5 separate regions of the Homo sapiens genome follow, and all the other regions are linked to region 5. The links are contacts of gene promoters, found by promoter capture Hi-C in blood cells and fetal thymus (Javierre and others, 2016). All regions are on one chromosome and are shown on one strand. Each heading gives the region's core, a stretch centred on a gene start or on the middle of the fragment in contact. The rest is flanking DNA. Distances are from core to core; before and after follow the strand shown.

What was found. Contacts are between HindIII fragments. The CHiCAGO score rates a contact against its expected background, and 5 or more counts as called.
Region 1: a contact is called between a fragment that was not itself captured here and the fragment with the promoter of CYRIB in region 5, in 11 of 17 cell types (non-activated CD4 T cells, total CD8 T cells, naive CD8 T cells and 8 more). The highest score is 13.2, in non-activated CD4 T cells.
Region 2: a contact is called between a fragment that was not itself captured here and the fragment with the promoter of CYRIB in region 5, in 1 of 17 cell types (neutrophils). The highest score is 5.0, in neutrophils.
Region 3: a contact is called between a fragment that was not itself captured here and the fragment with the promoter of CYRIB in region 5, in 1 of 17 cell types (neutrophils). The highest score is 5.2, in neutrophils.
Region 4: a fragment that was not itself captured here is called in contact with the fragment with the promoter of CYRIB in region 5 in 1 of 17 cell types (neutrophils); the score reaches 6.2 in neutrophils.

The regions. Positions count from the first base shown.
Region 1 is chr8:129,861,665-129,864,364 of GRCh38, reverse strand. It overlaps CYRIB (CYFIP related Rac1 interactor B), which reads left to right. Exons shown (of 14, transcript NM_001353258.2): 7 at 2,031-2,136. Among named protein-coding and RNA genes, the nearest start is that of GSDMC, 76 kb to the right of the region's middle. The HindIII fragment of the contact is 2,029 bases long and covers 238-2,266 here.
Region 2 is chr8:130,204,130-130,206,829 of GRCh38, reverse strand. All of the region lies in intron 5 of ASAP1 (ArfGAP with SH3 domain, ankyrin repeat and PH domain 1), which reads left to right. Among named protein-coding and RNA genes, the nearest start is that of ASAP1-IT1, 91 kb to the left of the region's middle. RefSeq lists an enhancer at 1,967-2,700. The HindIII fragment of the contact is 6,359 bases long and covers 1-2,700 here.
Region 3 is chr8:129,804,120-129,806,819 of GRCh38, reverse strand. No RefSeq gene overlaps it. Among named protein-coding and RNA genes, the nearest start is that of GSDMC, 19 kb to the right of the region's middle. The HindIII fragment of the contact is 2,729 bases long and covers 1-2,669 here.
Region 4 is chr8:129,785,333-129,788,032 of GRCh38, reverse strand. It overlaps GSDMC (gasdermin C), which reads left to right and starts at 1,409. Exons shown (of 14, transcript NM_031415.3): 1 at 1,409-2,022. The HindIII fragment of the contact is 4,714 bases long and covers 1-2,700 here.
Region 5 is chr8:130,015,308-130,018,007 of GRCh38, reverse strand. It overlaps CYRIB (CYFIP related Rac1 interactor B), which reads left to right and starts at 1,448. Exons shown (of 14, transcript NM_001353258.2): 1 at 1,448-1,638. RefSeq lists silencers at 1,236-1,295, 1,346-1,415, 1,506-1,695, 1,886-2,155. The HindIII fragment of the contact is 5,812 bases long and covers 1-2,700 here.

The sequences.
Region 1 (2,700 bases), core at 3-2,502, 150 kb after region 5:
GCCTGCGGCCAAAGGATTTTTTTTCATCTATATCAGCATATCAAGGTCTCTTTGAGATGTTCTCATTACTATAGAATGTGAACAAAGGATTGTTACATGTTGTAATGTCAGATTTTCTTCAATGTTACAATATTTCTAGATTAATGACATAAGTAGGATTGACTTCAGGCTTCTAATGGGTTTAAGCATCATTTAAAAATATTGAATAAAACATCAATTTGAAAATGGTGCCAAGCTTGTAAAGTAAATTGCTTAACCAGTATATAGCCCATTAATTCAGTTTGCAGCTAATTTGTTCAGAGCATCCGTTAGATCTGTCTGGGTTCAATTTTATTTTGCTTTCCTGAATTTTTGTTTTTTGTGTGGATGGAGTCAGAATACTAGTGCCTTGGGAGTATTGAGACATGTCATATAACCTCTTGGTAGTGTTTATAAGCAGGTCCCTGCTTTAGTTCTGAATTTCAGATGGTATGTTTAGTTTGTTTCAAGATGTTAGAGAAAGTAAATCAGGTTGTTGAAGAACATGTTAACTTCTGTAAAGGAGTACAAAAAACATCTATGGGCAAATGAAAGATAAAGACAAAAAAATATGTATTTTTGGAAATAACCCTCTATTCAGAAAAGATTACTTAATGATTTGAAAGACTGGGTATAGAAGAAGTCATTTATATTAAGGATCTCTAGATTATATTTTCTTCCCTTTCAGATTTGAAACTAGTTTTTCATCTTACTCAGGAAAGCCTGAGAAAAGTTATTATCTAGAATAGGATAGGATTTTAGTTATAGAGAATAAGTATCTGTGACAATTCTTCTTTTTTGTATTTTCTTTTTTTTTTTTTTAAGACAGAGTCTCGCTCTATCACCCAGGCTAGAGGGCAATGGCATGATCTCGGCTCACTGCAGCCTCCACTTCCCGGGTTCAAGCAATTCTCCTGTCTCAGCCTCCTGAGTAACTGGGATTACAGGCACACACCACCACACCTGACTAATTTTTGTATTTTTGGTAGAGACGGGGTTTCACCACATTGGTCAAGCTGGTCTCGAACTCCTGACCTTGTGATCCGCCTGCCTCAGCCTCCCAAAGTGCTGGGATTACAGGCGTGAGCCACGGCGCCCAGCTGACAATTCTTAAATCACAGTTTCAGCTTGATTTAGGTTCTTAAGTCGTAGGTAGTTTTCTTAATGCTAGTTTAGACCCTGGAATTTTAATTATTGGAAATTTCTTAGCCTGTTCCCAGAGTTGGCATCTTATTGTCTTACTTTTTGAGTTTTCTTTTCTACTGCTAAAATAATTCTTTGACAAAGAAATACTAAGAGACTCTGTGATATGGGAAACATATGCAATATTTTTTTTTGTGGATCTGCTGGGCACCAAGGCATAAAATATTTAACAAACATATTGGATCATTTTTAAATTTTCATTATGTTCATATCTATTGCAAGGATAACTAAGAATGTATTATGTTAGTTATGTATCTAACTAAGGTTGAAGTATCTATGGAGCTGAGAAGACCCACTCTTAGCACTCCTATGGAGTGTCTGTGGAGTTGAGAAGACTCACCCTTAGCACTCAATATAGAATATTCAACACTCAGCCGTGCGTGGTGGCTCACGCCTATAATCCCAGCACTTTGGGAGGCCAAGGTGGGTGGATCACCTGAGGTCAGGAGTTCGAGACCAGCCTGGCCAACATGGCGAAACCCCATCTCTACTAAAAATAAAAAAATTCAGCTGGGTGTGGTGGCGCGTGCCTGTAGTCCCAGCTACTTGGGAGGCTGAGGCAGGAGAATCACTTGAACCTGGGAGGCAGAGGTTGTAGAGAGCCGAGATCACGCCACTGCACTTCAGCCTGGGCAACAGAGTGAGACGCTCTCTCAAAAAAAAAAATATTCAACACTCCTAGATTCAATATTCTATATTTTATGGATTATACCAGTGTTTCCTATGTTTGCTAAAGCCTACATTTTAATGTAAAAATGAACCTTTTTTTTTTTTTAACTCTAACTATTTTTATTCTTTGGATTTTGAAGGCAATCCAGCATCCAGCAGATGAGAAGTTGCAAGAGAAGGCATGGGGTGCAGTTGTTCCACTAGTAGGCAAATTAAAGAAATTTTACGAATTTTCTCAGAGGTTAGGTAAGTTGAAAGTTTTGTAATTGTGACTTCCCTAGTGAAAAAGATGTTTATTCATTCCAGAAGTTTAGAGTTTTTTTATGTTCATAATGCTGAATTTGGCTTAGTATCTGTTTTATAAGTAAAGCAAGCTTGTTAGACTGTAAGATTATAGTTAATCTTCTTTCAACCCTGGCCTTTTAATTCATTTAGACCATTTTTGTCCACAAGTTATTTTCCTCATCATCTGTCGTTTTACATACATGAATCTGAGCATTGATTTTAAATGATTTTAAGAACACAAAAGTTTGACTAACCAAGGGCCTGAGGATTACTTTCCCATATATGGGAAAAGGACTTACTGTAGCGATGGAGAGAGATTCTACCAAGTGATTTCTCATAATAGGACCCTTTAGCATCCAAAGAAATCAAAGAGGTTTTCTTGAAATTTTTACTGGTTACGCTTAATTCATGTATCTAAAACTGTAGAAGATGAGAAATAGGCTGGGTGTGCTTGCTCATTTCTGTAATCCCAACACTTGGAGGCTGAGGTTGGGAGATTGCTTGAGCTCAGGAGTTCGAGACCAG
Region 2 (2,700 bases), core at 186-2,685, 190 kb before region 5:
GAAAGGAATAACTGGTGGATTGAAATAGATTCTCAATGGACAGAGGAAAACCATTTAAATGCCATACCCTTTGAAAGTCCCAAGGCAGCAATGGTTTTAGAAAATGTATATAAATTATTTTTTAAATAGTGGGAGTCACCCGGAAGTATTCTAGGTCAGCCAGGACTCACCATGCATCTGGTTTCTTCTCTCCGGAGGCCTTTGGACAATTCTATAGCTTGCATAAGAGCTTGAGTCTCATTAAACAGTTGGAGGGCAGTTATTGCTTCAGAGCTGTTGAAGCAAAGCAAAGATTTCTCCATCTGCATAGCATTTCCTGTTTGCAATCTCTGACTGTAGGGTATTGTGGTTTGTGTTAAAGTTGTTTTTTTTTTTATTTTTCTTCTTTTCTTTCCCCTCAAATAAGAATATCTGATAATGTACAGGTTGGATCTAGATTTGTAGCCAGCAGATTATTTCTCAAGTTCTTCTTTGAAATGTTAAAAAGTATGGAGAGCATGGATGTGCCTAATGGTAAAATTGGTAGCTTCTGGGTGCCCTGAACTATATAATGCATTTTTAAAACCTTATCTTTTAAAAAAATGGTCATCAATCATTGGCAGTTTTCAGCGTTTGATCTACCAGGTATCCCCTTATTTCCTGACATGCCTCACTGCCTCACTACCAATTAATACTGTGGGACATTTTGTGAAATGTGATCTATCCATGTGGGTTGGTGGGTGGGTAAGAGGGAAAGGTTTATTTTTAACTCCTTCTATTTAAAAAATCATACATATTTATTATAAAAATTTGAGATATATGGAAAATTTTAAAATAAAAATTATAATTCTAGCTTCTGTTAATATTTAAGAGTAGTATTTGAAACAATTTTATGGATTTGTACACAGAGATACTGCTGATTTGCATAGATATCTGCAGGTATAGGTATATATCTCATTCAGGTCCAAAATCCTTGGGGTTAGATTTGTTTCAAAATTCAGAGTTTTACCGATTTCAGAAGGGTGACAGGGTGTACATGCCTTATATTATGCAGCACACCCCCTAGTGACTTCTTGGGAAGATGCTTATAATTAAACACAGTTTTGTGTCTGCAGTGAAACTTGAATATTCACATGAAGTCTGATATATAAAGACTATTAGGTGCCCCACCTCAAGTCTAGTCAAGAGATTACCAACCAAATGGAGTCAGAACAGGTTTTGCTATTAAGTGAGTTTAAGCTAAAAAAAAAAAAAAAAAAGCCGTGTATTTTATATATATATATGCAAATTTGCTCTAACAGGCTGCATACTGTTTCATTGTATATCTGTACCATAACTGATTATTTGAATTTTCTGTTTGTCAATACAGGTATACCTTGTCTTAAATACATCCAATAAACAGGTATCCTAGTGTATATATACCTCAGGCTGAATTTGAATATGGTTTTTGTTTTTTTTTTTTTTTTTTCTTATAAGGATTCACATTCAGTGTTTCAAGGTAGGATTTCAAATAATACATTTTAAATAGGATTGCATTTTCAGCTTGTGGCTTTTGCATGTTGTTCATAGCACTTGTCTAAAGGGTGTATGCACGCGATATGTGTACGTGATTGTCTAGTATTATTTCACTTACATTTGGTATAGAGTTTTGGTTCTATGTGAGAGGAAGGAAGAAGGAAAAGGGAGAGTGGAGAAGGGAGAAGAAAAACCATCGCTTATTGGAGCAAAGTTTCATTGACCATAAGAAAAGATTGAACTTTAAGAATGATTGGTACTGGAATGCTTTATGCTGTCTCTAACATTTTGCTAATCAATATCTCTTTGATAAAAGAGCTGGTCTCACCCTCACAGCCTTAAGGCAGGTGAAGTTTTCATTATTTTTATTTTTATGGTTAACTTTTACTATACAAGTAATTCTGATAACAGGAGCTTGTCTTTATACTGTGGTGACTGTATGCCAGGCACTGGCACTTTGAGTACTTTACATGTTTTATTGGTTAAGATAGGCTAGGATATACTGCAGTAATACATGAACCCCCAAATCTCCATGGCTTAACATGGTTTATTTTCTTCTCGTGTGACATGTCTACTGAAGGGATCTGTTCTGCTTAGCAACAGCAACTCAGAGACTTAGACGCATGGAAGCTCCCCCTTCTCTACAGGGGAAGAGAGAGACTAGAGAAGCGTATGCATACTTTTCACAGCTTTCCTAGGTGTTGTAGTTCATTGGTTTGAACTGTGATCTTGGCCCCACCTACCTAGCTGCAGGAGACCTGGAAATGGGAGGGAGCAGGAGCTGCAGGAGACCTGGAAAGGGGAGTATTTGGTGAGCATTATCCTCTGCCTCATCTGTATGTAGCCTCATTTACTCCTCACAGCAGCCCTACCAGGTAGTAACCATAGTTACCCTTATTTAAGAGCTCACAAACTGAGTCACAGAGCATTAAGTAGATCTCAGATTCAGCATTCAAACCCAGGTGGTCTGCTCTAGGGCATCGGTCCCCAACCTTTTTGGCACCAGGGACCGGTTTTGTGGATGACAGTTTTTCCACATACAAGAGGGTAGCCGGGAGGATGGTTTCGGGATGATTTGAGCACATTACATTTATCATTAGATTCTCATAAGTAGCGTGCAACCTAGATCCCTTGCATATGCAGTTCACAGTAGGGTTCCGTCTCCTATGAGAGTCTGATGCTGCCCTTGATCTAACAGGAGGCGGA
Region 3 (2,700 bases), core at 56-2,555, 210 kb after region 5:
GAGAGAGAGAGAGGAAGAGGTGCCAGGCCTTTTTAAACAACTAGCACTCATGTAAACAAATAGTGAGGACTCACTCATCATCAACCTGGTGACACTAAGCCATTCACAACGGATCCACCTTCATTATCCAATACCTCCTACCAAGTTCCACCTCCAAATTAGGGATCACAGTTCAACATTTGGAGGGGATGCATTCCAAACCATATCAGACCCCACTTCTAAAAAATTCTTTTAAAATTAACCGGTGTGGTGGTGTGTACCCATAATTCCTGCTACTGTGGATCCTGAGGCAGGAGGATCACTGGAGCCCAAGAGTTCAAGGCTGTGGTGAGCTGTGATCGTGCTGCTGCACTCCAGCCTGAGTGACAAAGATGTTATATCTTAAAAAGACATAAACTCTGACATGAAGAATGTAAAGTGTAGTGATGAGAGAAATAAGTGTCGAGTTTTATTATCCAATTAAAGTTACATTGTTACCAGCCTATAATCCACAGTTGTAGTTATAAAATATTTTATGTAATCCTTGTGGTAATAACCACAAAGAAAATACCTATAGAATACTATGCAGCCATAAAAAATGATGAGTTCATGTCCTTTGTAGGGACATGGATGAAGCTGGAAACCATCATTCTCAGCAAACTATCGCAAGGACAAAAAACCAAACACCGCATGTTCTCACTCATAGGTGGGAATTGAACAATGAGAACACGTGGACACAGGAAGGGGAACATCACACACTGGGGCCTGTTGTGGGGTGGGGGAAGGGAGGAGGGGAGGGATAGCATTAGGAGATATTTTGTTAAATGATGAGTTAATGGGTGCAGCACACCAACATGGCACATGTATACATATGTAACAAACCTGCACATTGTGCACATGTACCCTAAAACTTAAAGTATAATAAAAAAAAAAAGAAAATACCTATGGAAAATACACACAGAAGAGAAAAGAACCAAAGTGTACCACTTCAGCTGAGCAGCTGCCCTGTGTGAAAAATACAGGGCTTCTGCCTCCTTCTCACAAAGCCCAGTCCACCATTTCAAGGAGGTGGAAACCTAAAGCTAGGTATCAAAGCAATCTCAAACGAGAGTGATGTTTTATTTGGTTTAAGTGCCTTTGTTTATGGGGCTTGGAATCAAAAGACCTCAGTGGGGCCTGTGCCTCTTGCGGGACTAACTCACAAACCTTGGCGAGTCCTCTTCTAGGAGTAACTCACCAACTAAACTTGGGAAGGTCATTTCACTTCCCAGTTACTTTTCTTTAGTTTCTAAAGCTCTTAAGTGCAGACAAATGACACATAAAATACATTGCATATTATTTAATATTGTAACACACACACACACACACACACACTCACAAACTTTCTATGTCCCTAGCATACTCTTTAAGTGAATACACATTTGATAAATGCATTTGGTTAAGTTAATTTAAAATATTATAGTTGGTTATTGTGAGTGACTTAGGTAAATCACATGTGCTTGAAGATTTTTCAGTCTCATGCCATAAAACATTTCTGCTCAGGATGTTATAGCATTTAGGGTACTTTAACTGTGAAGGTTTGTTGCTGTTGGTTCCTTATTTTTTTTTCCAGCTATAAAACCAAACATGTAGGTAATATAGCAGCCACCCCTTTAGATCTTCTAGAATCCATCATTTACCCAAAGCAAAATGTAGTATCACATAATTAAATTGACTTTCAATTTTATCAATACTGAATAATCTCATATATTAAAGCACTATAAATGAGAATGTTAGAATATAGTCTCAGGACAGGAGTCAGGTTTTCATGGCACCCAAGAAGTGGGAAATAATTACCCCACCCCTTCTGACCTCCCAGAAACAGGTCCTGATTAGGATCCAGTCCCCTCTTGGAAGTGAGGCTGGGCTGGCTTGCTCTTGGTATCCCCATTCCACTTTAGGGTGGCTCTGTGTTTTTTTTTTTTTTTTTTTTTTTTTTTTTGTGAAACAGAATCTTGGTCTGTCTCTCAGGCTGGAGTACAGTGGCACTACCACAGCTTATTGCAGCCATGATCTTCTGGGCTCAAGTGATCCTCCCACCTCAGCCTCTTGAGTAGCTGGGACTACAGGGATGTACCAGCATGCCTGGCTAATTAAAAAAAAAATTGTAGAGACAGAGTCTTGCCACATTTGATCAGGCTGATCTTGAACTCCTGGGCCCCAGCAGTCCTCTCACCTTGACCTCCCAAATTACTGGGATTACAGGTGTGAGCCACAACACTCAGTCAGTGGCTCTGTATCTTGACATAAGTATTCCAAGGATGGACATTTGCTGAAATCAATCATACTGCTATTGTCCTTTAGCACAGGAGTGCTGATCAGTTCTGTGGCCTCTGTTACCACATACAGGTTCTCCCTTCTCTTATGCACTGCTCCAGAAATAATGGTTCTCGGTCCATCAATCCAACAGTTTCCTGGGATATAAGGCAGGAGGAAAAGAGTAAGAGTTGGGGAAGAACACCTTCTTATTTGTTCTGAATTACACATCTCCTCAGGTGCTGGACATTGTGCAGTGCCTCTGGAAGTTGACAGGTGAACCCTCAATAGGTAGGAAAATCAATTAACTTTGTAGCTGGCCAAGAAACATTACATATCCTGCATCCCATTTACTAAAAGAATCTCATGCCTTATTTTTTTTCATATTTAAAGCTTTGACTTCAGGGTTACTTATTTCTTTTAGTG
Region 4 (2,700 bases), core at 165-2,664, 230 kb after region 5:
ATAATTTAATTGTACATTTAAAAATAACTAAAAGAGTATAATATTTTAACACAAAAAATAAATATCTGAGATGATAGATACCTCATTTACCCTGGTGTGATTATTATACATTGTATGCCTGTATTAAAATATCCCATATATCCCATAAATAAATATATACATCTATGTACCCATAAAAATTAAAGACAAAACAAAACTAAAAACTACAGCTTTGCACAAAGGCTATTGCAACCTTAAACAAAAAATACTTCTGCCAGGACATCTGTCCACCAACTGCCTGTCTAACCTTGGACTGGTGCCACCTTTGTTACTGATCCTTGTAAGCAAAGAATTGATTCAAAACAATTGTGTAATCCTTCTTATTTTTCTTTTTAAAACTTTTTTCTTCCCTTACCTGTCTGAATACACACATAGTTTGTGATGGCACGCATATTCCCATTGCAATGCTCATTCTTGAATAAATATCACTGTCTTTTAGAGAGCTTTTCTTTATCTGTTATTTAGGTTGGTGTGACTCACATAACTGTTCCCAAACAGCTAAGTTACTTTTCTCCGACTTCTGGAATACCCAATAGCAGGTTGGGGCCTATAGAATGTTGGTACACAGAAGGGTTATGTATGTAATTATAATTTTATATTTCAAGTCTATAGTTTTTACAATGGAAATTATAGAACGTGAAAGTTAATTTGGAACATCGTGTCTGGTGGTGATATGCAGAAAGCACAGTCTGAGCTTTGTCCCAAGTGAAGTGCATATCAGGTTCTTACAGTGGAAAGGGAAGGCATAAGACTTTTATGAATATTAAAAGAAAACAAAAGTAAAGTAAATGCATTGTGAAATACTGTCAGCTGAAAGGAATGTTGCTGTATTGAGTGTCAGTTCCAGGAAGTTACTCAAAACTTAAAGGTGTAGCAATCCTGTTTATACAGTTTCTGCTCCTATAGGCACTTTACTTCATCTTGAAACCCATAGGGAGTAATTGGAAAGGACATGGGTTTCAGGCAAGTTTTTAATTCCTTTCACAAATCCCCTTTTTATTTATATTTAAAATAAAGATTGTTGTAAGATTGGATTTAGATAATACATGCATGGTGCTTAACACAGAGGAGGCATTAAGCACAGTAATTCCTGTTGTACAGAGCCCCACATGTAGGCAGTTCAGAGGTGCTTCCCAGGGCCCTGGCGCTAGTGCCTGTCCCTCCTGCTGAAGTTGCCTTTCCTGGTGTCCAGTGATTGAATTCTAAATTCAGCACATATACCAGAGGAATACGAGCCAAAGAAGTTGTTCCAGCTAGAGTTGCTGGGAATCCATGAATCAAAGACTTGCTCAGCTAGTTCTGTATGTGAAAGGAAATGGGTGTGACTCTGAGGAAGCCTTTTTAATTCTGATTCAGGAGATACATAATTAGATGCCACTTGATTTTGTTCCACAGACTTTTTGCTGAGGACTTGAGAGCTAAGGTTCTGTGATCCAGAACTAGTTCCAGACTTACTCTTCTGGAAATGAACAGGGCCCTCCTGTGCTTATTTTTCCAGGATACTGCATTGGAAATTGAGTCAGGGACCCATTGGTGAGAAGAGAACAGTGAACAGAATCACATTGATCTGGTCCTGGAGTTTGTCTGACAATTTCTACTTGACCGCAGGAGGTCTGAAGATTGGAAGGGGCCCTACTCAATTGTGCTATTTTTCTCTCTTTTTTTTTTTTTTGAGACGGAGTTGCCCAGGCTGGAGTGCAGCGGCATGGTCTCAGCTCACTGCAACCTCTGCCTCCCGGGTTCAAGCAGTTCTCTGCCTCAGCCTCCCAAGTAGCTGGGATTACAGGTGCCTGCCACCATTCCTGGCTAATTTTTGTATTTTCAGTAGAGACAGGGTTTCACCATCTTGGCCTGGCTGATCTTGAACTCCTGACCTCGTGATCCACCGGCCTCAGCCTCCCAAAGTGCTGGGATTACAGACGTGAGCCACCGTGCCCGGCCAATCCTGCTATTTCTCTACAGGACAAAGGGATATATAATCTGGTAAGTCCTAATGGGATCAGGGGATGAAAAAGAAAAGATTACTATCATCAGCGACAAAAATGTTCTGGATGGGTTTGTGAAATGAGTCGAAGAGTTTTTTTTCCTACAGAATTTGACTGAAAAGGAAGTTAAGTTCGTCTTAATAATGGAGAATTCCTGATAGCATGTAAGGCTAAGGAATATATCTTCGATACATTATTGCACAGGTCCAGTCTTAAAGAAGCATCTTATATTCTCATTATTCTCTGCTTGTCCAGTGACCTCTTACATGGCCCATATCAGAGAATTGAAATGGTCACATCAGGAATTTTACATGAACTGTTGAAAATTCTGTCTCTCTTCATTATTGAACATATTTAGAAAGTTCAAAAACTGAATTCCATGTAGTTAGGAAGTCCTATTCCTATTTGTTATAATTGTAACAATACAATTATACTCTTAATTGTAACAATACAATTATACTGTTTTAGTTATTTCTAACTGTACAATTATTGACTATAGTCACCCTGTTGTGCTATCGAATACTAGATCTTATTCAGAAATACTAGATCTTATTCAGTCTAACTATTTTTTTTGTGCTCATTTACCATCCCCACCTCCCTCCCACCCCCTAATATCTTTCCCAGCCTCTGGTAACCATCATTTTACTCTATCTCCATAACTTCAATTGTCTTAATT
Region 5 (2,700 bases), core at 199-2,698:
GGCGGAGGCAGGGAGGATCCCTTGAGCCCAGGAGAAACAGGCCAGCCAGGGCAACACAGGGAGACCCACCTCTACAAAAATCTATAAAAATTAGCTGAGCATGGTGGTGCATACCCGTGGTCCCAGCAACTCGGGAGGCTGAGGTGGGAGGATCGCTTGAGCCCAGGAATTTGAGGCTGCAGTGAGCTATCGCATCACTGCGCTACCTAGCCTGGGAAACAGAGCAAAATCCTGTCTTAGACAAAAAAAAAAAAAAGAAAGAAAAAAGAAAAGAAATGGAACAACTGGCTCCTAATCAGGTAACTCAGCACTGAGTATGATGTGAGCACACTCCAACCCCCCTATAGCTGGAGGTGGAGGTGGAAAGACAATGGAAGCCTTTGATGTAACCCTTTTGATACCCTGCTAGAGGACAGCAGAAAGATACTTGAGAGAATGTTGTCTATCTTCCCGAGAAATTTCTGGTTGAATGTCAAGATAATGATAGGATGGGCTTCTGGGCCAGGGGAGCAAGGCAGAGGGAAGGAGAGTATCAGTTTCCTAGGCATGTCCTGTTACAGGGAGAAAAACACAGTATTTTCCATTCTAGATCAGGGGAAAGATGAGGTCTCCCATAATACCTGAAACTGGAATTATGGCGAGGAGCTTTTTATGTGGGAATTTCTGTACTAAATTTAAAGTCCTTGGAGAACCGCTTAGGGTAGCACCGACAGCCCGCACCGTCCCCTCACCCCGCTTTATTTTTCCTCTGGCACAGCACTTAGCACCATAGGACCCATCAGATATTTACGGCCTGTCCCCGCTGCCCCTCCCGGGCAGGGATTTTGTTTTGGTTCGCAGCTGCAGCTCCAGGGCCTAGAACAGCCCGGGCACTTAGTAGGCCCAGTAAGTATCTGCGGGAGGGCTGAATGGGTGCGTGGACAGCATTCCTCTCACTGACCCCGCTGCGAGGTGAGCCAGGCAGGGGCTGTCACCATTCCTGAAGTCCAGGTGAGGGGGAAGCGACCCAGGGATGGGAACCTGGCCGGCCTGAAGGTCTGGAGACCGGGGTTCGAGCCCAAGCCCTGCCTGACAGGCAGTGACCTTGGGGGTCACTCTTGCGCCTCTCGGAGCCGGGTTTCCTCCTCGCACAATGAGGGCGATGACCCCCAATCGCAGCGCGCCCCGCGGTGACTTGCCCAAGGTCACCACCGTCCCGGGCCCGTGGCGCCCCGGCTCGGGAGGACACGGGCCAGGCGGGCGCGGGGTTCTGGGGTGGGGGCCGGCGCGGGGCGGTCCCGGGGCGCGGCGCGCGCTGACGCCGGGGCCCCGCGATGCGGCGGGGACTGGGCGCGGGGGGAGGCGCGTCGCGAGGCGAGCGTCCTCCTTTTGTGCGAGCGCCGGCGGCTCGGCTTCTCGAAGGTAAACAGCGCTTCCTCTTCCTCCTCGCCGCGCCTCTTCCTTTTATAGTTATTTCTCGCCTGGCACTCGCCCGGGCTGCTGCTGCTGCTGCTGCTGCCGCCGCGGCGGGGGCAGCTCGCAAACCTGTGGCGGTGACGTGAGCCCCGCCAACCCGGAAACGGCGGCGGCGGCGGCACCGGAGGCTCCGAGGCTCCTGCGCTCCCGCGCCGCGCTCCCCTCGCCCGCCCGGGCCGCCAGGTACGTGCCGGGGCTCTGAAGGCGCCGCCGCCCGGCCGGCCCGCGCGCGCGCCCCTGGATCCGATTTGCCCCCGGAGAGGGCGCGGGGTGCGGGGCGCGCGCGTGATGGGTGCGGGGAGAGGCGGAGGTACCATCCGGGCCGCCGGGCCGGGCGCTGCGGCGGGTGGACAGGGGGCGCCGCCGTGGTGGGGGCGTCCGGGCCGGCGGGCGCGGGGGTCCCGGGGGAGGCGCCTCGAGTGCGCGGGGGGCGGCGGGCGGACGCGAGGGGAGCGCGCAGCGGGGCCGCCGCCCGGGTCCACCCAGCTGCGGAGCCGGCGCCTTGTGCGCCTCGAGGCAGGGGGCGCTCGGGTCGGGGTGGCTGGTCCCTGGCAGACCCTTCCTGCGAGCCGGGTGTCGGTGCGGGGACTGACCCCGGGAGCAGCGCTGGCCCCCGGCCACCTCCCATCAGGGGCTTGGAAGACCAGTCGCATTGGATTTGAGGAACTAGAGGGGGTGAACAAAATCTCCACTGGCCTCAAGACTTCCTCCTGGGGTAGCCACCCGCCTGTGTTTAAAGAGCACTTCCTCTTCGCCTTTTATCTTTTCATTATCTTTCTTTTTAAATGGAAGTTCAGTGTTAGCGGGTGGGTGCCCTTGCAGCCTGCAGGGCTTTCCTGGGGCTGTGTACACACACACTGGGGTTGGGAAAAACCTGTGTGTCCTTTGAAACGTGTGTCCTGTGTCAGGAGTGGAACGAAGGAGGAATCGAGGTCTTACCATGCTGGAGCTACTTGGAGTGTGCCTTTGCTACCCACCCTGCTGCAAGAGGTGGAGGGGTGCGGAGGGATAGAGCTGGGGCTGCGGGGGAGTGTCACATGCACTTTGCAGCTATGTTTAATTCCTGGCCCTGCCGCTTACTAGCTGTGTGACCTTGGGCAAGTCGCTTACCCTCTCTGAGTCTTAGGGTCCCGTCTGTGAAATGGGCTGCTGCGAGTGGGGCCTTGAGAAAACGAGCGTAGATTTCCTGGCCTGCAGGGGGCGCAGTGATAGAAAGTGTCATTGCCAGTCACCTTGAATTTCTGC